7 separate regions of the Homo sapiens genome follow, and all the other regions are linked to region 5. Evidence: promoter capture Hi-C in human tissues and cell types (Jung and others, 2019). All regions are on one chromosome and are shown on one strand. The core of a region is centred on a gene start or on the middle of the fragment in contact, and the rest is flanking DNA. Distances in the headings are between cores, read along the strand shown. Region 1 overlaps LRRIQ1 (leucine rich repeats and IQ motif containing 1). Region 2 overlaps LRRIQ1 (leucine rich repeats and IQ motif containing 1). Region 3 overlaps LRRIQ1 (leucine rich repeats and IQ motif containing 1). Region 4 overlaps LINC02820 (long intergenic non-protein coding RNA 2820). Region 5 holds the start of ALX1 (ALX homeobox 1). Region 6 overlaps LINC02820 (long intergenic non-protein coding RNA 2820). Region 7 overlaps LRRIQ1 (leucine rich repeats and IQ motif containing 1).

What was found. The method cuts DNA at HindIII sites, captures the fragments that hold promoters and counts their contacts. A contact is called where the count stands out against the background at its distance.
Region 1: a fragment that was not itself captured here is called in contact with the fragment with the promoter of ALX1 in region 5 in 3 of the 25 tissues and cell types used here (H1 embryonic stem cells, mesendoderm cells and neural progenitor cells).
Region 2: a contact is called between a fragment that was not itself captured here and the fragment with the promoter of ALX1 in region 5, in 3 of the 25 tissues and cell types used here (H1 embryonic stem cells, mesendoderm cells and thymus).
Region 3: a fragment that was not itself captured here is called in contact with the fragment with the promoter of ALX1 in region 5 in 3 of the 25 tissues and cell types used here (H1 embryonic stem cells, lymphoblastoid cells and mesendoderm cells).
Region 4: a fragment that was not itself captured here is called in contact with the fragment with the promoter of ALX1 in region 5 in 2 of the 25 tissues and cell types used here (mesendoderm cells and neural progenitor cells).
Region 6: a fragment that was not itself captured here is called in contact with the fragment with the promoter of ALX1 in region 5 in 4 of the 25 tissues and cell types used here (H1 embryonic stem cells, liver, mesendoderm cells and 1 more).
Region 7: a contact is called between a fragment that was not itself captured here and the fragment with the promoter of ALX1 in region 5, in 2 of the 25 tissues and cell types used here (adrenal gland and neural progenitor cells).

Annotation. Positions count from the first base shown.
Region 1 is chr12:85,135,110-85,138,368 of GRCh38, reverse strand. LRRIQ1 (leucine rich repeats and IQ motif containing 1) reads right to left here. Exons shown (of 27, transcript NM_001079910.2): 19 at 400-519. Among named protein-coding and RNA genes, the nearest start is that of LRRIQ1, 100 kb to the right of the region's middle. The HindIII fragment of the contact is 5,109 bases long and covers 1-3,259 here.
Region 2 is chr12:85,051,651-85,054,755 of GRCh38, reverse strand. LRRIQ1 (leucine rich repeats and IQ motif containing 1) reads right to left here. Exons shown (of 27, transcript NM_001079910.2): 7 at 2,505-2,579. Among named protein-coding and RNA genes, the nearest start is that of LRRIQ1, 17 kb to the right of the region's middle. The HindIII fragment of the contact is 5,235 bases long and covers 1-3,105 here.
Region 3 is chr12:85,107,456-85,110,810 of GRCh38, reverse strand. The region is part of intron 15 of LRRIQ1 (leucine rich repeats and IQ motif containing 1); the gene reads right to left. Among named protein-coding and RNA genes, the nearest start is that of LRRIQ1, 73 kb to the right of the region's middle. The HindIII fragment of the contact is 4,998 bases long and covers 1-3,355 here.
Region 4 is chr12:85,440,964-85,444,057 of GRCh38, reverse strand. All of the region lies in intron 4 of LINC02820 (long intergenic non-protein coding RNA 2820), which reads right to left. Among named protein-coding and RNA genes, the nearest start is that of LINC02820, 120 kb to the right of the region's middle. The HindIII fragment of the contact is 3,723 bases long and covers 1-3,094 here.
Region 5 is chr12:85,278,924-85,281,884 of GRCh38, reverse strand. It overlaps ALX1 (ALX homeobox 1), which reads right to left and starts at 1,665. Exons shown (of 4, transcript NM_006982.3): 1 at 1,398-1,665. The coding sequence starts at 1,623. RefSeq lists a silencer at 1,280-1,574. The HindIII fragment of the contact is 12,363 bases long and covers 1-2,961 here.
Region 6 is chr12:85,421,022-85,424,022 of GRCh38, reverse strand. All of the region lies in intron 3 of LINC02820 (long intergenic non-protein coding RNA 2820), which reads right to left. Among named protein-coding and RNA genes, the nearest start is that of LINC02820, 100 kb to the right of the region's middle. The HindIII fragment of the contact is 5,156 bases long and covers 1-3,001 here.
Region 7 is chr12:85,091,487-85,094,390 of GRCh38, reverse strand. The region is part of intron 11 of LRRIQ1 (leucine rich repeats and IQ motif containing 1); the gene reads right to left. Among named protein-coding and RNA genes, the nearest start is that of LRRIQ1, 57 kb to the right of the region's middle. The HindIII fragment of the contact is 5,012 bases long and covers 1-2,904 here.

The DNA of each region.
Region 1 (3,259 bases), core at 266-2,765, 140 kb after region 5:
TCTAGTTTAAAGGAGACTAAGGAAAAATGACAACTAAATGCAACTTATGATTCTGGATTAGATCTCAGACTAAATATAGGGCATTAGTAAGACTACTCACAAATTTGATAAGGTTGATTAGATCATAGTATTACATCAATGTTAATTCCCTAATTTTGATAACTGGAGAACATGGTTGAAGGGCACAAAGACGCTCTTGTAAGTATTTTGCTGCCACCTTTGCACACTATACAAGCTTGTAGGATAAAAGAAGATGATGTTAGGAAAAGTTTCTCAATGTTAGGAAAAAAGTCTGTAACAATATTAATAGGATAAACACCTTAGAAACTGGTTTATCTTCAAAATAGTACACTTAATGTATTTTAAGACCAATATTTATATACTATAGTTCGTACTTACTTCATCAAATATAAAATCCTCTAAATCTATTTCTCTGTATTCTTCATCGGATTCTTCATTCTTAATAGCCTCTAGAGCTGTTGTCAGTTTCTTTCGCAAAATAAAGCCCTTCCAAACTGCCTAAACAAAAATGTAAAGTATGTTATACAAAGTTATAGATCAAACCCTAAACCAGATTATCTGTGTTATCCCATTAGGAAGATAAAACATCTTAGACCTAAGTTTAATGACACAATAATCTGTTTTCTGAACTTTATGTGACACTTAAAACTGAAAGATAAATTAAACGACGACATGTGTCTAAAGTTCTGAATCTCAGGAGACTTTCCTTGTAGTAAGCAAAAAAGAATCTTTAAAACTCCCTCAACTGCACATGTAGGTCAACCAATCAATTATGTTACAATTCCTCCAGGACCCATTCTAAACTAAGAAGAAAGAGATACAAAGCAAAACCCATTTTGCTAATGTTCAAATGATTATGTATAAAATAAAGCACAATTAAGAAAACATCAACATATATAAATGGCCATATTATACAGGGAGTATTATGGCCTATAATGATGAATTAATTTCATTTTTAAATAAATTAAGCATAAAATAACAAAATTTAAAATATTCAGATTCCTCAGTAATCCTGGAGTAGGATGAGCTTTCCTAACTATAACTCCAAGTACAATGTAGCTTGTAAAAAATGGATATCTTTATATTTATAAATATAAAGAATATATTTATGCTCATGTGGAATGAGCTTCAGAATATACTGTGTAAAAACCAAGGGAGAAATAAGTGTTTTTTATGTTACTGTTTAGCTATGAAAAACTGTGTATAAATATATACATTACATTAACACATATTTTGAAGTATATATGTATATATATAAATTTTAAAAAGCTCGAATTATAAAATTAATTTTAAAAATGGTTACCTATAAAGGCATAAAACAGGGTAGAATGTATAGCAATAGAAGCCAGACTTCTCTAAATACATCTTGCTTGGATTTGACTTTCAAACTATGCACATGCTTAAGAGAACTGTGAAACAAATTAAGTAAATATGAAACAGAAAGAAATGCCTAAAATATAAAAAATGTTTCATGCTGTGGAATAACCATACAAGTTATTTAAAGTGACTTAAAATAGATTTATTTGGCTACCCCCAGGTGAAATATACTCAAAAGACAAATTTGGCCACAAAAGAGATTTTAAAATGGTTTTCAGTAATCATATTGTTAGTAATGAGATTGGTATTTTCATTCTGAAATATATATATATACAGAAAGAGAGAGAGAGCAAAGTGAAATATACAAAATGGTGAAACCCTCTATGACAATAGCAGTCACCCACAACCTTTGTTAACAGCCAGCCTAGGAAGCCAAACCATAATCTCTGAAGCAAATAACCCAGAATGCTAAGTGACAACCTCTGCAGCAATTAGCCAAGAATGGTCAAAACTTGATCAATGACCCAGCTTCCTTGTTTTTAACTCTGCTTCTAACTCAGGAACAACCAGAGAAAGCCAAATATGCTTCCCAAACCAATCACATAATATGTTCTACTTCTAGTCTCTCCCTACCCACTTTCCCCATGCCAACAACCTCCAATAGAGCATACCTGAAGCGTTCCCTTTTTCCACTAAAAACTTTCCCACTCCCTTCCACGTTTTGGGGTCTATGCCAAAGGCAAGTGATGATGGCTGACTCCTTCATTAGCATATACTCTGAGTAGCCCATTTTTTTCTCATTTGTGTGGTCTTTATTTCCACTGTATACGTATGTGTGTGCACACCCACATACACATACACAAGTACACGCAGGTTGGAGGAGTGAGGGAGAGGAGTAAAGAAAGCAATTATGATAATGTCAGTAAAAAACAAGATTTTCTATAGAAGAAAAGAGATGCAAATATACAATTAAATAAGTAAAAATCCTATAGTCCTAACTATAATTTCAAAACATCAATATGTACCCATGGTATATTTTTTTTCCTAAAAATATCTATCTGCAAACTAAGTACATTGAATGTACATTATATAAATAATGACCAAACCAGTAGAAACAAGTATTTCTAAAATCCAGATGGGGTGCTCTATATGTCATTTCCATTAAAGAAACCAAGGATCTTTAGACAAATGACTGATTCTAGGCCTGGGGCAAAATGTATGTCAAATGAACCTGGAACATTGTGTCACATTAGAAAGCAAGGACAATTTTAAAGACTACTAAATTGTGGCAAAAATTGAACTTGATGAGACTACTAACTGCAATGAAATCAAACACATATATTTAAAATCTGTGTTTATTATCATAGTACCCATTTTGGTGACCTTTGGAGAATGCTAGGAGACCTCATTAATCTAAAAATTGGTAAATTAAGGAAAATTATTAATATCAAGCATTTAACTTGCCTTTCTAATTTGAACTGTACCTTAGGATAACTAGTTAAATAAAGTATTTTTTTTGTATTTTTACATACTTTAGTTAATAAAGAATAGTAGATAGAAAGTATCACCATTGTGCAAACCATTAATACAATAATCGATCTAGGCAATGTTTACCAATGGCCAGTAATATTCCTTAAAGAGAGGCAACCAGATACTATGTATCTCATTTTTGTAATACAACCACCACCTATGAAATATTCTTGCTAAAAAAAAAACCTGAATCAGAACAAACAGTAGATCTTAGTATCAATTTACAGAAAACCAGGAGATGATAAACATGTTAAATGATGTCATGAGGATGCATTTGGCAAAATTCAGAAATTGGAAAACCCTATAGGACAAATGACCTGGTTACTTCAATAAATAAATTGCAAGAAAAAGAAGGGAGTTGCTGTATAATAAAAGACTTAACATATAAAAG
Region 2 (3,105 bases), core at 381-2,880, 230 kb after region 5:
AAACAGGAATAACCTCATATTTCAAGTGTTCAAATAAAAACGACTCACTTAAACCAATAATCAAAATAGAATGGCTGGATAGCTGATTACTTAAAAAAAAACTTCAAAATGAGATGTTTTCCCCAAACAACAAATAATAACAAAGATAAAAATTATATGTCGGAGGTAAAGAAGATTAACACAGAAACTCCAACATATGACTAGTAGGAGTTCCTGAATAAAGAACTGAGAAAAACTGAAGGGAAGAAAATAATAGAAAAATACGTTTTCTTAAAAACAACAACAAAAAGCCATGGGAGAAAGACCGAACATTGCATGCACACATACACAACACACTTAGACAGATGCTAGCAATATTTCAGACCTCTGGGGAATGTAAGCTGTTAGTTTTACTGTGCTCCTTTTTAGGTGGTGTGTCTTTTTGCCTCTGGATGCTTCCAACACTATTTTTCCTTTGTCTTGAATTTGAATAGTACTATTTAATTCCAAGGTGTGATTTTCTTTGTATCTCTCCTCCTTGGAAATTGTGTATCGCATTTGAAAGTAGGGATTATTTTCAATTTTATGTACTGTCATATCTTAAACACTCAGAGAAGTGCCTGACCTAGTAGAAAACCAGTAAATATGTGTGGATGAATGTATAAAATGAAAAATCCTAAAGCTTCAAAAGAATGTAAGGAAAAGGCATCAAATTTGCAATCATAGATAGCACAGGCAAAAATAAATATGCAACAAAGTCATATCTTTACATTGTTAAGGGTGGTAATAAATCTGTATTCCACACCCGAAGAAACTGACCATTCATTTTTAAAAGCAAACTAAAAATATTTTCAATCCTGGGTAACACGGTGAAACCTTGTGTCTACTAACAATACAAAAAATTAGCTGGGCGCAGTGGCGGGCGCCTGTAGTCCCAGCTACTCGGGAGGCTGAGGCAGGAGAATGGCGTGAACCCAGGAGGCGGAGCTTGAAGTGAGCCGAGATGGCGCCACTGCACTCCAGCCTGGGCGACGGAGCGAGACTCCATCTTAAAAAACAAAAAACAAAACAAAATATTTTCAAATATGCAAACAAAGATTGAGAAAATCTAGCATCCAAAAATGTTTTTTGACAACTATTTAAGTGTATACTACAGGAAATTAAAAATTGAGTCCAGAAAATGGAGGAAGAGTCAGGATTCAAAGAACACTAATAAACAAAGAAACCATTATCATTGAATACTTACGTTTTTTGAATCGTCTTCTTTCTTCCATCATTTTACTTAAAGATGGCTATTTGTTTTACTGTTACTCCTTTTTAGGTAATGCGTCTTTTATCCTCCAGATGCTTCTAAGACTTTATTTTTCCTTTGTTTTGAATTTCAATAATTGTATTATTTATTCCAAGGTAGCATTTTCTTTGTATTTATCCTACTTGGAAATTATTTTTCATCTTTGAATATGCTGGTTGATTTTTTAAAAACAATTTGAAATCTTTTTAACCATTATCTCTTTACCTCTTTGCTTCTGCCCCATTCTCTGTCTCCTCTCAAGATATGATACAAATTTTATATCTTTTCACCATGTGTCACATATTTCTTGTGCTGTTTTCCTCTTCTTGCAATTTTTTTTCTTCTCTGTGCTTTAATTTGGATATTTTCTATTGAACTGTCTCATTTCACTAATGGTGTCATCTGCTATGTCCAATCAAATTCACCCACTAAATTTTAATTTTATATACTGAATTTTTTAAACTCTAGAATGTAGAGTTGGTACTTCATTATAGATGCTATTTTTCTTTTCACATCACCTGTTTAAGTATTTTGCTACTGGATGATAATTATAGGTATTTTAACAGCTCTACTATACTTACCATTTGGATTATCTATAGGTGAGCTATTATTGTCTTTTTTTGTCACTTGTCATTCATATGACTCTGTCTCTTTACATGCTTAACCAGCTTTTTAATTTGACAATGTGTAGTAGACACCTACTTTTGCAGGAGCGGGTTTATATAAATTTTAAAAAGATTTGAAAGGAATACAAAAAAGGATAATGTTTAGCTAAATAACAGGATTATGGAGATATCTACTTTAAATTTGTAATTACTTAAAATAATTGTATATGAAAACTCTAGAGTAAATAAAAACTAAAACATCAGTATATGTATCATCAGAATAATCTTATATTCAAAACAAATTTAATTGTGTTTAGGAAAAAGAGTAAGCTTTCATAACAATCTTTGAACATAAAGAAATATTCAAAATGGTACATTTCATCAAACCTTAAAAGAAATGTTAGAATTACAATTTTATACGGACAACACTCACCAAACCAGCTAACTCTCATTTTTAAGACATTCTATTTCAAGGAGTGTTTCTGAGGATTAATAAATTTTTAATGCTGTAATAAACTAAAATCTTATACTACTTAGGCAGCATTATCTAAAAATAACCATTTCAAGCATAGTAATGTATTTCAAATAAAGAAAGCTTAATGTGCTAAATAAAAACAACAAATAGATACCTCATGCTGTTTAAATTTCTCTTTCCAAATTTTCTCTTCTTTATAGAGTTCATCATTCATCTTGTCCTGTTCTTGCTGAACATATGATAATAATAAATATGACTATACTCAAATATCAAAAATATTATGTTAATTATATATGATTCTCATAACATATATTTGTAAACAATAGTTAAAGCTGACAACCCAACCAATGGCTTTCAATTTTTAGTACTGGGATAACAACTTTAATCTCAAACTGAAGTGTCACATAATACCTAGGGTTTCCATTCTGAGAACATAAAGAAGTTTGCAACCTAGGAAAGTTGTATTTATTTGAGTATGTTTATTCACAGAATATAATGTATTGGCTCGAAACACTGTTAGGCATTGTAAAAATTACAATAATGTTTGTAAAATGGGTTTTGTGTTACAATTGTTTTCTCACCATGTCATACCATTTAATTCACATAAATCAGTTCAGTAAGTGATGGTTTTCTTTCAATAAGTTTTTATCAACACATTCGATAAGACTCCTCAGAATAAACAGATCAGTAAAATACAACCCCCTTCTTCAAAAACTCTTCTGATAATGTGAAGACACTATCATAAATTTACACAT
Region 3 (3,355 bases), core at 300-2,799, 170 kb after region 5:
TAGACTAGCTTCAAACAGAGTCTAGCTACATCTGACCTTCCTTACTTTTCTTGGATATTCCTCCCCCAGAATTGCTTTTATTAGTTCTTTATGATTTTAAATCTTAGCAAACTTCTGAGGTTTAACTAAAAGTGTGCCCCTTTAGCCAAGGCCGTTTCTCCTTGTCACACTAAACTGAGATGATTTTTCTAAATTTTTAAAGCTTATATGTTGCCTACAATAATCATTTGACACTAGTGTTTTATTAGACACAAAAACTCTAAGAGTTACAAGCGTAGATTTTGCAGCCAGACTGCATGAGTTAGATTTCCTGGCTCCTCTACTTGATAGCTATGTAACCTTGGTCAAGTTATTTAGCCTTTATGGGACTCAGTTTCCTCAACTATAAAATGGGAGGCTGGGTTACATACATAATTATTAGGCATATTGTATAGATTAAATGAGAACAGTGTTGAGCACAGAGTGAATGTTGTATTAGTGGTTTTGATCATTATTATTTTTCATGGTTATCAATTCTGTGCCTACATTTTATCTCCCCAGTATGATTAGAAAAATGTCTTAAAATTATGGGTTACATTAAATCTCCTTCATAATGTCCAACATGTTAGGACACTGAGGACACTGCATACAGGAGGAGTTCATAAAATACTTGGTGATTAAATAAGATCCCATATATAATCTGGTTAACATGGTAATGGGAAATAGTAAATTTTCATTATCTTACCACGTTCTAAGAATTGTTCTAAATAAATTATGCGTATTATACCATTCAGTTCTCATAACCACCCCATGAGACTATCATCCTCATTTTACTACTGGGGATTCAGAGACATAAAAAAGTTAAGTTAGAGCTGGACATGGTGGCATACACCTCTTGTCCCAGCTACTCAGGAGGCTTTGGTAAAGGAAATGCTTAAGTCCAGGAGTTCAAGGCCATCCTGGGCAACATAGAAAGACCACATATCTAAAAAAGAAAATTAAGTTACTTGTCCAGGATCACACAGTATGGGGTAGGGGTAGAATATCCTTGTTTTAAAATGGTGGTTTTCAAACTTTAGTATATATCAGAATCATCAAAAGGGCTTCTTAAAGTACAGATTACTGAACACCATTCCTAGGTTTCTGATTCAGTAGGCTTGGATGGTGTCAAAAATACTGCATTTCTGCTGGGTTTCCAGGTGATGATGACTGATGCTGGTCAAGAGACACACCTTTGAGAACCACTGTACTAGGTCATACTCTTTCATCTGTGCTGCACAGCTTAACGTACACTTGGAAAAGACATTTCTAAACTGGAAGTTGACAAATTTTTTTCTAAAACGTGGAAACATGCCAGATTTCCCTAAATAACATTGTACTATTAGAAACTTTTTTGGAAACCTGGCTCTAAAGAAAAAAGAAAGAAAAATGGACTTTCTGGGCCAAGATAATAACTCTTCTAAGATATACAAGTTACCAATATGCAGTAAATTACATAGGTGTTTGAGTTAGTGTAAAAATGCTTCTACCTTCTTAACCAAAGACCAAGTAACAAATCCAGGAAACAAATTAACCTAGAAAGAATGTCAGAGGTTTGCAGTAGCCTCAGACAAGAGTGGGAAGACAGACTATTCCCCAGACTCTAATAGCTTGTTCTACAGGTACATTAAGTCAGATATGGGAATTTTAAACATAACCAGACATTTAATTCTTCTGTAATATATCTTATACTCCTCTGAAATTGTCAGATCCAGGATCTTCCTGGACATGGCCACACCTTGCAGAGAAACCAAATCAGGGCAAAAATTCAACAGCTTCTGCCCTAGGATCAGGTGTTATAGCTATTTTTTTTTTAGTTTGTGTTTTGTTCATAAATGTATTTTAACTGCCTGAACAAATTGACAAGTTTTCCTGATTTGATTTAAACTCTAATGGTCCTAATACATATTTTGCTACCTAATATGTATTTTAGTAAATGTGTGCCTTCCCCTATACTTAGCATGTTTGTATTGGCAAACTCATTTTCCTAAATTGTAGCCTTGTTTATGCTTGGCTTATCCTGCCTTGATGTACCAGTGAAATGACAGTATAAAAATGTCAAATGTACAATAAATAATGTGAAACCATCTCAAAAGTGAATGTTCTGAGCATAAAAAAAGACAAAAGTGTAAGCCAGAATGATCACCAATTCCACAGTGGAAAATTTCACAGTGGACATATGCAAATTCTCTCAGTATTCTGGGAGGTAATTCACTTAAACTTGGCAAATCAGTAATCTTCTGTTGATGTGTAAGAAAAAGCCATCTAAATTCAGGGGAAAGGACCAGTAGAAACTGAAGGCAGAACTATAGGAACTGACATAGGAGATTAGTTCCCACAGGCAAAGTTAAAAGAATACATAGAAGACCGGGCACAGTGGCTCACATCTGTTATCCCAGCACTTTGGGAGACTGAGGTGGGAGGATTTCTTGAGCCCAGGAGTTCGAGACCAGCCTGTCTCTATATGAGACATCTGGAAAAAATACTCAGAAAATTGTCATCATAGTAGTAGGGCTAAATTAGCATTACTCCAACGATTTCTTTGGACCATTCTAACAGAACTTAAAAGCAAGCTTAGAAAGTATCGCATTAGTGCCAAGTAACTTAGCCACTGCACACCAAACATAAAATAGAGGCTATTTAAAGTAATACAATGAAATTAAGCATTGGGAATATAAAATTCAAAATGTCCAGAATACAACCAATACTGACCAGGCATGCAATGAAGCAGAGAAATATGATCCAGAATCAGTGAAAAAAAATTCAATACAAGTAGACCTTCAAATGATAGAGATGATGGAAAGAACAGATAAGGAAGTTAAATTAATACAGCTATTATTATTTTCCATATGTTCCAGAAGGTTCCAGAAAGCATGAGCATGATTAGAAGAGAAATTACAAATGTTAAAGAAATACACAAATTTATATAGAGGAAAAATATATCTGCAATCAGAAATGAAAAATAGATGAGTCTGAAAGCAGAGTAGATACTTAAACAGAAAATATCAGAGAATTTGAAGACAAAGCAATAGAAACTATTCGGAGTGAGTGAGGCATGGAAAGGGAAATAAATAATAATAAGTAAAAGAAAACAACAGCAACTCCTGGGATAATTCAAGTGGTCTGATATTGTTGAAACTGGAGTGCTACTAGGGCAGAATAGGTAGTGAAAGGGAGAACAAAAAAATCTGAAAAAAAAATGGCCATAAATTTTCCAAATTTTATGAAAATGGCAGATCCAAAAAGTGTGATAAATCCCAAGTAAACTAAATGCAACCACACCAAAACATACTGTAATCAAATTGTTGAATACCAGTGATCAAGAGAAAATCTTAAA
Region 4 (3,094 bases), core at 173-2,672, 160 kb before region 5:
TCACTCTGTTTCTACTCTTGATCCTTTCATTCTATTTTCAACGTAGCAGTTGTACGGATTCTGTTAAAGCTTTATTCAGGTAATTCAAGGTCAAACAAGATATGTCACCTCTCTCCATCCCTGACATCTACTACTCTGTCTATCTCACTTCCCTCTAATCATGGGGACTTCATTGCCATTCCCCTGATGTGCCTTAAGGCCCAGATTGGATATATTATTCGTGGGGCCCAGTACAAAAAGCAAAATGCAAGTTTTACTGTTCAAAAATTTAAAAAAATTTCAAGATGGCAAGGGTCTTGTGCAAGATCTTGTGCATCAGCACAGGGTGCACACTTAGGAAACCAACCTGCTTAAAGTATTGAACTGTTTTGTGCTTTCTGCCTGAACACTTTCCCTAGGTACCTCCTAGATACCTGTGTGCTAAACTAGTCATTACTCTTTTTTTTTCTTCCATTATACTTCCCAAACTTCAGTTCTTTCATTAAATACCACATCTCAGGCCTTTCTACCCACCTTATTTAAATTTATAATCTCTATTCATGCACACCTAACCCCTATCCTCTATATTTTTGTTCATAGCATATATTGCTATCTATTACTTTTTTTTTTTTTTTTTTGAGACGGAGTCTCGCACTGTCGCCCAGGCTGGAGTGCAGTAGCGCGATCTCGGCTCACTGCAAGCTCCGCCTCCTGGGTTCACACCATTCTCCTGTCTCAGCCTCCCGAGTAGCTGGGACTACAGGTGCCTGCCACCACGCCCAGCTAATTGTTTGTACTTTTAGTAGAGATGGGGTTTCACCGTGTTAGCCAGCATGGTCTCGATCTCCTGTCCTCGTGATCTGCCCGCCTCGGCCTCCCAAAGTGCTGGGATTACAGGCGTGAGCCACCGCGCCCGGTCTATTACATTTATATTTTACTTACTCAATCTAATTTTTGCCTTCTCCCATCAGAATACCAGTTTCAAGAGAGAAGGTGGTTATATCTAATTTTTACTGCACTTAAAATATTCCCTGCGTTTAAAGTAGTAATACTCAATAAAGGTGTTGAATGAATGAATGAATGAAAATATGATTGGCTTTCAGCAATAAAATGCTAAAGACCTGTGCATCAACAACCCATGGGCTGAATGCTGGTCCGTCTCATGCAGGAAGATTCCCAGGGTTTACTTTGGATCAAACAGGTCTCAGAATATGTACTGTAGTGTATATTATTGCCTGAAAGCTATTGGTAGAATAGTGGACCTCAAGAGCTGAATCGGAAATTCTCAGGTAAATCATGGTTTCTGGGACAACAACCTCAATCTCCTCCCCCATCTACTAGTAAATTATGCTCCACCCTTCCTGGAATAATGAGATCCAGAATACTTAACATTCCCCTGCCTAGGGATGTTCACTTTCTATCCCTTCAGGTAAGTTTGGCTGGAAGGTCGCATTAATTAAATTAACTGTTTTTCTTTTATTAACTTTTGGTAAGTCTGCTTTTTGTTGTTGTTATTGTTTTGTTTTTGTTTTTGTTTTTGAGATGGAGGCTCGCTCTGTCACCGAGGCTGCCAGGCTGGAGGGCATAGGTGCGATCTCAGCTCACTGCAAGCTCCGCCTCCCAGGTTCACACCATTCTGCACCATTCTGCTGCCTCAGCCTCCCTAGTAGTTGGGACTACAGGCGGCCGCCACCACACCCGGCTAATTTTGTTTTTGTATTTTTAGTAGAGACGGGGTTCCACCGTGTTTGCTAGGATGGTCTCGATCTCCTGACCTCGTGATCTGCCCGCCTCGGCCTCACAAAGTGCTGGGATTACAGGCGTGAGTCACTGTGCCTGGCCTGGTAAGTCTATTTTATCTCTACATATGCCCACCTATTTAGATTTATTAAAAACTCTTCTCATGTCACATTGAGAATTTAACACTATTACAAGTGTCATATACAGCTTCAAACCCAACAGTGACTCAAATCTGGTTGTTTTTTATCTATAAGAGCATGTAAACATAGTTGCCCAGCTTCACCCTCCCAGTATTTCACTAAGTAGCTCAAAATCATCTGGGAATAACTTTTTTTTCCTCTAACTTCTCTCCCTTAACTCTAGATCAGCCCTCTGGACTATCCATTAGGTGGCACTGCAAATCTCTGGATAGTTGTCTTGTCCTCCTAGAGTCAGATTAATCTTGTTTTATTTTCCAGTTAAATATGAGTTAATATAATCACCTGGAAATTAGGAGATTGTTGGAGGTTTGTACAGAGGGAAAAATGTGTGTCATAATGCTCTGAGAGAATGAGTGGGAAAGAAAATATTCCGAGAAAATATAATGGAATGATTTGTCAGTTTTAGTACACATTTGAGATTTACAGTAAAGGAAAGGCAAAAAGTCAGCCCTGGTGTGTCTGAGTACATGTATCTCATGAATGTGTGTTTGTGTGAATGTGGGTGTGTGTTTCAGTCCCATTCATCTGCATAGGTATAGTTGTAAAATATGCAGCTCGTTGGATAGTCGCTTTATTATGATGGGCCATGATACTAAACATTTTCTAAATATTATTTGAACATTTGTGGTTTTTGGCCATGAATTTAAAATAGAAGCCCTTGGATTATGGTTGCTTTTTCTCTGATCCCACAATGGTTACATGAAATTTTCTTGGTTTATTCAGACTGCTATAACAAAATACCTTACCCTGTGTAATTTATAACTACAGAAATTTATTGCTCACAGTTCTAGAAGATGGGAAATCCAAGATCAAGGTGCCAGCAGATTTGGTGTCTGGTGAGGGCCTGTTTCTTATAGACAGTGCCTTCTGTGTTTCCTTGCATGGCGGAACAGGCAAAAAAGCTCCCTGGCGTCTCTTTTATAAGGGCACTCATCCCATTTATGAGGGCAGAGTTCTTATATCATAATCACTTCCCAAAGTCACCACGTTTTAATACTGTTGCACTGCAGATTAAGTTCCAACTTATGAATTTTGGGGAGACACACATTAAGACTACAGCAGCAATTCAATCAGCCACTAGTTGTAGAGAATTATCCTAATTATTGATCATAGAATATAAATCGTGCCCATAGATGATAAAGGCATGATGGGTTGAAACATATTGAAAAAGTAAT
Region 5 (2,961 bases), core at 416-2,915:
GAGTCAATACAAGACATTGCAGAATCATTAAAGAAAGACCTGTCAATTCAAATAACGTTAGGCATGCACCTAAGAATTCCACAAATACAGATACCAGGTCTGAAACGCAGCCAGAAAACCAACAACTCAGTGTAAGAATAACAAAAAGTATACGCTCGAATCTTTCTAAATAAATGACTGAAACGACTTAGCTGATTATTTTCTCTATCATTTGCACCTTTATTTTTGATTTACCCTTAGTCAAAAGTTACTTGCAACGTTAAATAAAATTAGTTAAATATGAGATTAATAAAAGAAAAAAACTTGTGTTCAAAATATTTAGAAAATGAGCTTCTACAGGCCAGTGTTTTGTCAGATTTTGAATTTCTATAAAATAGGGGGCAGGGGGCTTGTTGTAAATATTTCACACTTAATTCGTTTGTTATTTTAAAGCAACCCGCCCCTTATAGCTTAACTGTGGAATATATACAATGATAAGGAGAAGTTCTCTTGGAATTGTAAACGTGCTTTAGCTGTCGCGATCTGAAATAATAGGTTAGTATTAGGTTACAAGATAGAAAAGATAGATGGTTTGTTTTGATAACATTTTGACTTGGAGATACTTGGGCATTCAAAGTTGAAGATTTCACCCAGAAGCATTCCAAAGACTCCTTAGGTGACTTTTAATGTGAAGTCATAAAAATACAAAACGTAGAATCTGGGAATGAGTGATTAGGCCGGGGATGGTTTGCCCGAAGCTATTTAGTGTGCTTTAGTGTTTAACAAACATTCAACGCGTGTTGTATTGCAAACGCAAAAAAAAGCAGAAATTACAAATTCACACACGCTAGAAATCTAGGGATCCTCAAACTTTGAAAATATATCGCCACGTCTTGGAAAATTAAAAAGATTTATCTTTACCTAAAGGAGCTCAAAGGGTTTTTTGTTTTTTGTTTTTGTTTTCCGGTTTTTTTTTCCCTACTCGTGACGACAGTGACGTACTCTAACGAGCTGTGATCGATTTCAGTTCCTACCGCCCGGACTGCAAGGCGGGCTCGCAGAGGAAGCGTTCTGTCTTGACTCAATTACGCTCTATTTAGCGCCCTATCAGTTTACTCCAGGAACCAATATTACAGAAGGACTCAGGGATCCGTAGGCGACCAGACCCTACAGCGAAAGGAGAATCGCTCAGAGGCAACCCGGTGCTGGATCTCTCCCTCCCTCCGCCCTCCGCCCCCAAAGGCTGCAGCAGCAGTAACACCGCTTCATAAAGCGAGCACCTTCCACTACCTTCCTCCACCTTCCAGGTCCCTCGCTCCCACTTTTCTCCTTTCTCCCTCCCTGCCTGATCAGACCGATCCTGCATTTTCGATTGCGGAAGGGCTGCGGCGGCTCCGGCTGGGGCGCTAGCGACTCACCGCTGCTGTCCTGACAGGGCGAGGTCCTCTCCAAGCGCACGTGATGCTCGGCGCGGGGCAGGGGTCCGAAGGCCTGCACGCATTTGCCTGCAGACGCTTTGCTGTAAAAGGACTCATTGTCCAGCGTCTCCATAACGTGCTCCAGAGGACCTCCTGCGCCCATGTAAAAGTCACTGTTTTTACTCGGAGGGCTCTTGAGGGCAAACTTCTCGCTCAGAAACTCCATAATCCTGGAAGACTGTCGCGTAGCTCCTGGGGCACAGAAACTGGAGAGCGCTGGGGGAGGGAGCCAGTGGGTGGGAGGAGGGAGGGCCAGAGAGGAGGGAAGGGAAAGCGAGCGCTGCGGCGTCGGGAACTGCCCCGCTCCGGTCCCTTTAATACGTCCCGGCTGGAAAAGGAGCACCCGAAGTTGCTTTTATATCTTGAAACTCAGCTGGCCTCCTCGGGCAGCCTCCCAGTTCTAATGAATATGAAAATAGGCGGGCGACTAACTCCACCCCAGGTCCCCCTCCGCCCCTACCCCACCCCCATTTTCCCCACTTACCCGGGCAGAGGGCGTCCAGGCCTAGGATAGACAGACAGACAGCTCCATTTCAGACAAATGCCAGGAGAGACGAGCCCCTGACACCCAGATTCATTGCCGCCGTGACAGTGGACTGGCATTTCGGAAGATCTTGGTGAGATCGCAAAGCAGTTAAACCTCCACTCCCTACTGCCTGCGCCTTCCTGAGCCACCCGTCCCCACCCCGCCCCCATGCCGGCCACTCACTACCAGAAAGATTTAGAGGCGTCTTAAGAACTTGAAAGGAAATATTGCTCTAAAAGGCTTTTATTTCATCCGTAAATCGTTTACGTGGAAGATTCACATTAATCCGAAGCCCAAGGAACCAGATGCATTGGCAACTGTTAATCGCAGCCGCCGTAGTAGAGGGGCCGCTTCGGCTTCTAACCGGGAGGAGCTCGGGGTCCGGGCCAGCTGGGAGCTTTACGAGGCCGTGGCCTTTTCTTTTTCTCTGGAATGCGGCGGAGTGTGGACGCGGTGGCGATGGGTGGGAGAGAGAAGCCGAGCAAGAGGCAATGAAGCCATTATACTAATGCCAACCAATTCCCTACACCCTCTTCGCCACCCTTCCCTTTGGTCCACGATTTTATCATTAGACCCAAATTATTTTAAGAAAACCCGTTAGGATCAGTGCCTTTGAAAGGCTTTTACTCTAATGCCAAAGTGAGGATTGTTACAAATAGGGGTTTATGAAGAAGAGGAATGTCTGCATATTTTTACAGAAATTACTTTTAATTTTAAAGAGTTGCTGTGGAGTTACTCCGAAAAGCGCTCTGGGAGTGAGTGGTGAGCGCGCGGAGCTGCGGGCACTCGCGGCGCGGCGTCCTGGGCGCGGACAGGTCCAAGGCCTCCATTTCCACCAGAGGGGATGGTAGGGCAGGCAGGACAGCACTGCTAGGTTGAAAGCCCTTCTGTGTGACTTTTGGCACGACTCTTGGCTTCCTAGGAGCCCGCGGCGCTTGGGGGAAATGCGTTCGGTGCCCTGGGCACAAAATCGCATTT
Region 6 (3,001 bases), core at 425-2,924, 140 kb before region 5:
TAAGATTAAAAAAAACTCAGCTGTCTGATCAAGGCTATGTTTTTCTTTTGTATGATCTGCACTCCCTGTGTAAAAAGGAGTTGGTAGTAACCACAGATCTCTGCCTCTGAAGGTTAAAAGAAAAAGAAAAATAAAGAAAAGAAGGAGAAGGAAGACAATGACAGGAAGAGGAGGAAGATGAGAGAAGAAAGAAAGCAAGAAAAAGAGAAAAAAGAAAAAAATAAAGAAAAAGAAAGAAGGAAAGAAGGAAAGAAAGAAAAGAAAAGAAGAAAGAAAAAGAAAGAAAGAGAAAAAGAAAGAAAGAAAGAAAGGAAAAAATCTTAAGAATTTAATATTAGGTCAAAAAAATTGTGGTTTTGGCATAAAAACTGCCCTTTTAACTTCTGAAAACTTTTTTTTCTGGTTTGGAAAAGAAATAGAGCAGTTTTGTGATGAAAGGATTTATAGAGAAGGTTTTCTTGGTATTCTGGTTGGATTTATTTCAACTACTGTTTAGAAAGAGAATATTTGTTATGTGTTTAAGTTGTTTTATAGTGTTAGGATCATTCCATGAGAAGACTAAAGCGATTATAAGAATATTGTCTAACTTTCTGCCCATCTCCATCTCAATTTCACGAATACCAAAGTACCAGACACAAATTTAAATTTCCTGAATTGTGAAGAAGGATATTAGCCATGGTGTCATCTGTATTTTTTCCTTATGTCTCTGTATTTCCTTGTAACCACCATGAGGTTTATAGATGCTTTACATTTTTTAAAGTGTATTTTGTCTTTTTATATTATTTACTTCTCTCATCTTTCTAAGACATGAAGAACTACCTAATTTGGGGTCATAAGAATGAGGGCTATACAGGAAGACTAATTCAAGGCTTCAGATTCAGGGCAGGCAGTTTAGGACACAACACTTATTATCATCTCCCTGAACCTCAGACGTTATCAGTCTGCAAGAGAAATTTAATCCTGAACATAAATTGCATTTCCTAAAAAAACATAATCTTGCCTTAAGACACCAACCTCCCTGATTACAGGGAATGTCTGTGTTTACACATTTGTACAGAGCATGCTGACTGTATTAGTGTCCTAGGAAACAAACTGTGTGCTGCTCACAGACCTGCTGCAAGCACTAAGGAGAGAAAGAAAAAGAAATTTTGAAATCAGACCCCCGATCTCCAACTCCTTTCAAATTCTTGAAGCACATTAGCTTTACTACTGCATGATGTACACGGTAGTATTTCTTCTAATGAAATCTGACTAAAAGTTTAAATGAGTTTAATGCATGAAATGTATAAATAAAATGTGGCCTTGATTAAATTTAGACTTGATACATAACTTAAATGGGTAGCCCAAGAATAGCATTGGTATCATGTGTCTAGACCTTTTCAGGCTTTGCAAAAGTAGTTTGGATTTTATCAGTTAGTGCAGAACACTTTCTAACAGGAGCACAGTATATATAAAAAGCTGAAATATGCAAAAGTACTGTGGAGAAAAGTGAGCGTAATTGAAAAGAAGCGACTGAGAAAATAACATAAGATATTAAAAGGTGACCGCAGAGTGGAATTTTGAAGTGTTGATTTGCAAAGAGCAATTTACATAGGTAAAACATTCCATTTGCCGTTTCTTCTGGATTTATTTTCGTTTCATGACTTTGGAAAAATCTCTTAATTTCATGAAGCCTCAGTTTTCCCCAGTCGTGGATCCAGATGCCTTATTTGCCTACTTTCTAGTTTGTTGGAAGGATTAGAATGAGAAAACAAATACAAAAGGATTTGGATTCTGTAGAGTGCTTATAAATCTAAGGCATTATCATTATAATAATTTCAGCTATATATCTAATACACTGCTTTTCAGTGTATTGAAAATACACAGTTGGCTTTTTCCTTAAGGATTTATCCAAAAGTCTACAAGACCATATCCATTACTCATATAAAACTCTTTGACCACATGACACAGAAAAGAGACTTTTTCAGAAACGAACTTTTCAGCTAGTGTGTTAGATATGTAACCCATTATTTGTAATAGGTAGGGCTAAAGCTATTAGACATATTAAATGGATTTTAAAAACAGCTCTTGGGAAACTACATAAATTAGTAGTAAAATGTACGGTCTTTGAAGTCAGCCATCCTCAGCTTCAATCCTGCCTCTACTTACTTGCTATAAGTATCACAGCTGTACAATTAAGAATGTTACTGTATCTTCATAAACTGTTTTTATATCATTTATTAAATGGAGATAAAAAATACCTGCTTAATGGTTTTGCTGTGAGGATTAAATAATATGATATGTGGAGAAGTTTTAACTCATCCCTGGTATTCAATAATAGCTATTCGAAAAAATTCTACTTTATTTTTTATTGTTTTATATATATACCACATAAATACTAAAATATGCATTTCAAGGCAATCACACCCATAAATAAAAAGGAACGTATTCCACTTCAAAAGGTCAAAGAGTTATTCCTTATTGACAGTTTAAAAACGGAAGACCAGTTCTGAAATCTCTCAAATTGAAGATGGAGAGGGGGATAAATGAAACATTGCAACATAAGGACAGCGCATGATGGAGTGGCAAAAGTTTCTCTTAAACCTCCTCAGGAGAAATGTTTGATGATTTTAGGCTAACCCACAGCCAAACTCTGTTTTTGTTTTGTTTTTATTTTTTCTGTTTTAAAGATTGCACAGTGCCACTCAGTTTTAGGCATCTAACAGAATGAAACCAGGTGAGTTTGAGCCAATTTTGCCTTTCATTTTTCAACTTTGTTTATTACTTTACTTAAACCACAACATTCTGAGATCTCACAAGAAAATCTGTTTCTGTGACATTTTCAGCCTGATTTCCAAACCAGAGAAAGAGGTTCAGATAAACTTGGGCTTGTTTCAAAAAAGCATCTGAGATTCTGGATGTTTATTTGAAGCAATCTGGACTCCTGACCTTTAGAGATTCCCCCACCACCCATAAAGAAAGCCTACAATGAATTTACTGTGCAAGGGTCTACTGCTTTAGT
Region 7 (2,904 bases), core at 155-2,654, 190 kb after region 5:
TCAAGCAAATTGCCTTTATTGTGAAATTTATTTTTATTATTATTACATTTTAGTATATAATAAAATAATTATACAACTCACCACAAAGTAGAATCAGTGGGAGCCCTGAGCTTGCTTTCCTGCAAATAGATGGCCCCATTTGTTGGTGATGGAAGACAGTGACATGCAAAGTGTGTTGCTTATGTCCAGTCTACAAAGTAATCTCATTTTGGTTGCTATCTCTCCAGAAAGCCCTGTTTCACAAAGATTAAATGCTGCAAATTGAAGCAGGCTTTCCAGCGCTTTTCTGGCAAACTCAGGATATCTAGCTTTGACTTTAATTCAGAATGTATGGAGATTTGAAGTTGTCTCAAATGTACTTTTAAGGCCACCATCATTTGCAGTCTCAAGCAGTTGATCCTCTTCTAGCCTGGCCAAAGTCAATTCACCTGGCTTATTCACAAATGGTCACAGATCCATTCCTTCTCAGTTCAGGGGTCTTTTGTGGTTGGGAAATAATGCTCAAACTCTTTTGAAAGCTGAGATAGGCAATGATGCAGCAGCTCGGAGAAAGGAGGCCTTGGCTCAGTCTCTTTCAAAAATCTCTGCTACTGTCTGAATCATATAAAAAATCTCTGTGTTCACTTGTTGCATCCAAAATTCCAGTTTGGCTTTGAATGCAGTCACTTTATCTGCCGACTTGAACACAATTATTGTTCTCTTCTGAAGTGACAGGTTGAGTTTGTTGAGGTGTCATATGTCATAGAAGTAAGCAAATGTGAGGACACTTTTTGTGTTACTGAAATGTGCTGCCAGTGGTGGGTGTTTTCTAAAATAAATCTTTGGAGTGGCTCTTATAGCTCAAAAACTCTGGCCAGTGATCTACCTTTAGAAAGCCATCTCACTTCTCTGTATAAGAGAAGACATGCATGCTCTGCATCCATCTTCTCACGTACGTGTGCAAACAGATGTGAGTTAAGGGCATGCACTTTAATGTGGTTGACAATTTTAGTCATATCCTGCAAAACATTAATTTCAAGTGACATTTTTGAGCTAGCCAGCATTTCTTTAAGGATGCCACCATGCATAACTTCCATTCAGAAGCAACCTCTTTGACCTGAGTAGTGAAACCAGAAAGCTGTCCAGTCATGGTAGCTGCTCCATTTGTGCATATACTGACACAAAATGATCAATTCCATTCTCCTGAGATGTAATTATTCAAATACTTGAATAGTTCTGCAGCTGTTGTGTTGGTTGACAACAAAAGTGTACATAACATATCCTCATGCACACCCTCCTGAAAAATATATCGCATAAAGACAAGTATTGTTACCTTGTTGTCAACATTAGTAGACTCATCAACCTGGATTGTGTACCATGGTGACTCATTAATCCTCTCCAACAATTACTTCTCAGTATCCTCTGCTATTTCATCTAATTGTCTGGTTATGGTGCTAGCCAAAAGAGGAACATGTGTCATCTTTTAAACTGCAGCCTCTCTTAAAACTTCATGACAAATGTCATTAGCAGCAGGCAGGATTAACTCTTCATCAATAGCAAAGGACTTCTTTGCTTTAGCGATGTGGTTAGTCTCTAAGAATGATGCCGTCGGCGCAGGCACGTTTGATAAAGTGGTGGCCTTCAATAACTGCTTCTGTTCTACATGTTTTTCCTTTTGACAAACACCAAAGGTTAGTGCAGGGTGCTTGGTCTCCATGTGACAAAGAAGTTTTGAAGGTTTCATGGGTTCATTGTATAGCCAGATGCCAAATATTATACAAAATGGACTTGGAGAATGTGAATCATTTGTTGCAATGAACTCGTGATTTAAGTGGAAATCTTGATATTTTCTTTTAGATGCAACTTTCCTTTTGTTGGCAGTCTTACAGAGTCTTCTGATGTCTCATCATTTGAAGAGTCTTTCACGGTTTTCAAATAAACTCTCCGGTGATGTTTGGCTTTTACTCATTTTGGCTGAGGTTATCTTGTGGGCTTACAAAAACTGTGACTGAGGCAAGTGCACAGTGCAGGAAAGAGGTGTGGATGGAAATGATAAATAAAATAATGAGTGGGCCACACACAGACTAAAATAAGTGTTGGATTCTGACTAAAAATCTGCCATAAGTTGCAGCTGTATAATTGAAGTACATCAACTCTCTTGACACCATAAAGCCTGCCACCAAATGCAGTTTGATTGTTACTTGCCACTCACTGATGGGGTTTTTATATGATTCTGTAAGCAACTGATTTGTTATGATCTCTGTGCAGTCAAAACTCTCTGCAAATGTTAATCTGTATTTGCAGCTACTCCCCAGATTATCGTAAGGAGTGTGCAACCTAGATCCCTTGCATGCTCAGTTCACAATAGGATTCACGCTCCTATGAGAATCTAATGCTGCTGATGAACTGACAGGTGGTGGAGCTCAGGCAGTAATGCAAACAGCAGTGAGCCATTGTAAATACAGACAAAGATTCACTCACTTGCCTACCACTCATCTTCTGCTGTGAGGCCTGGATTCTAACAGGCCATGGACCGCTACTGGTCCATAACCTGGAAGATGGGAACCCCTGGGATACAGAACTCAGAAATAAAGCCATACACGTACAATTATCTAATATTTAACAAATTTTTTAAGAAGCAAGCAATGTGGAAAGGGCTCCCTATTCAATAAATGGTGCTGGGATAACTGGCTATCCACATCCAGAATAAAACCGGACCTTTACTTTTCACCATATACAAAAACTAACTCAAGATGGATTAGATCTAAATGTAGCATCTAAAACTATAAAAATCCAGGAGAAAACCTAGGGACCACCATGCTGGATATCAGCCTTGTCAAAAAATTTATGACTAAGTCCCCAAAAGCAATTGCAACAACAACAACAACAAAAATTGACAAGTGGGACCTAATTAAACTAAAGAGC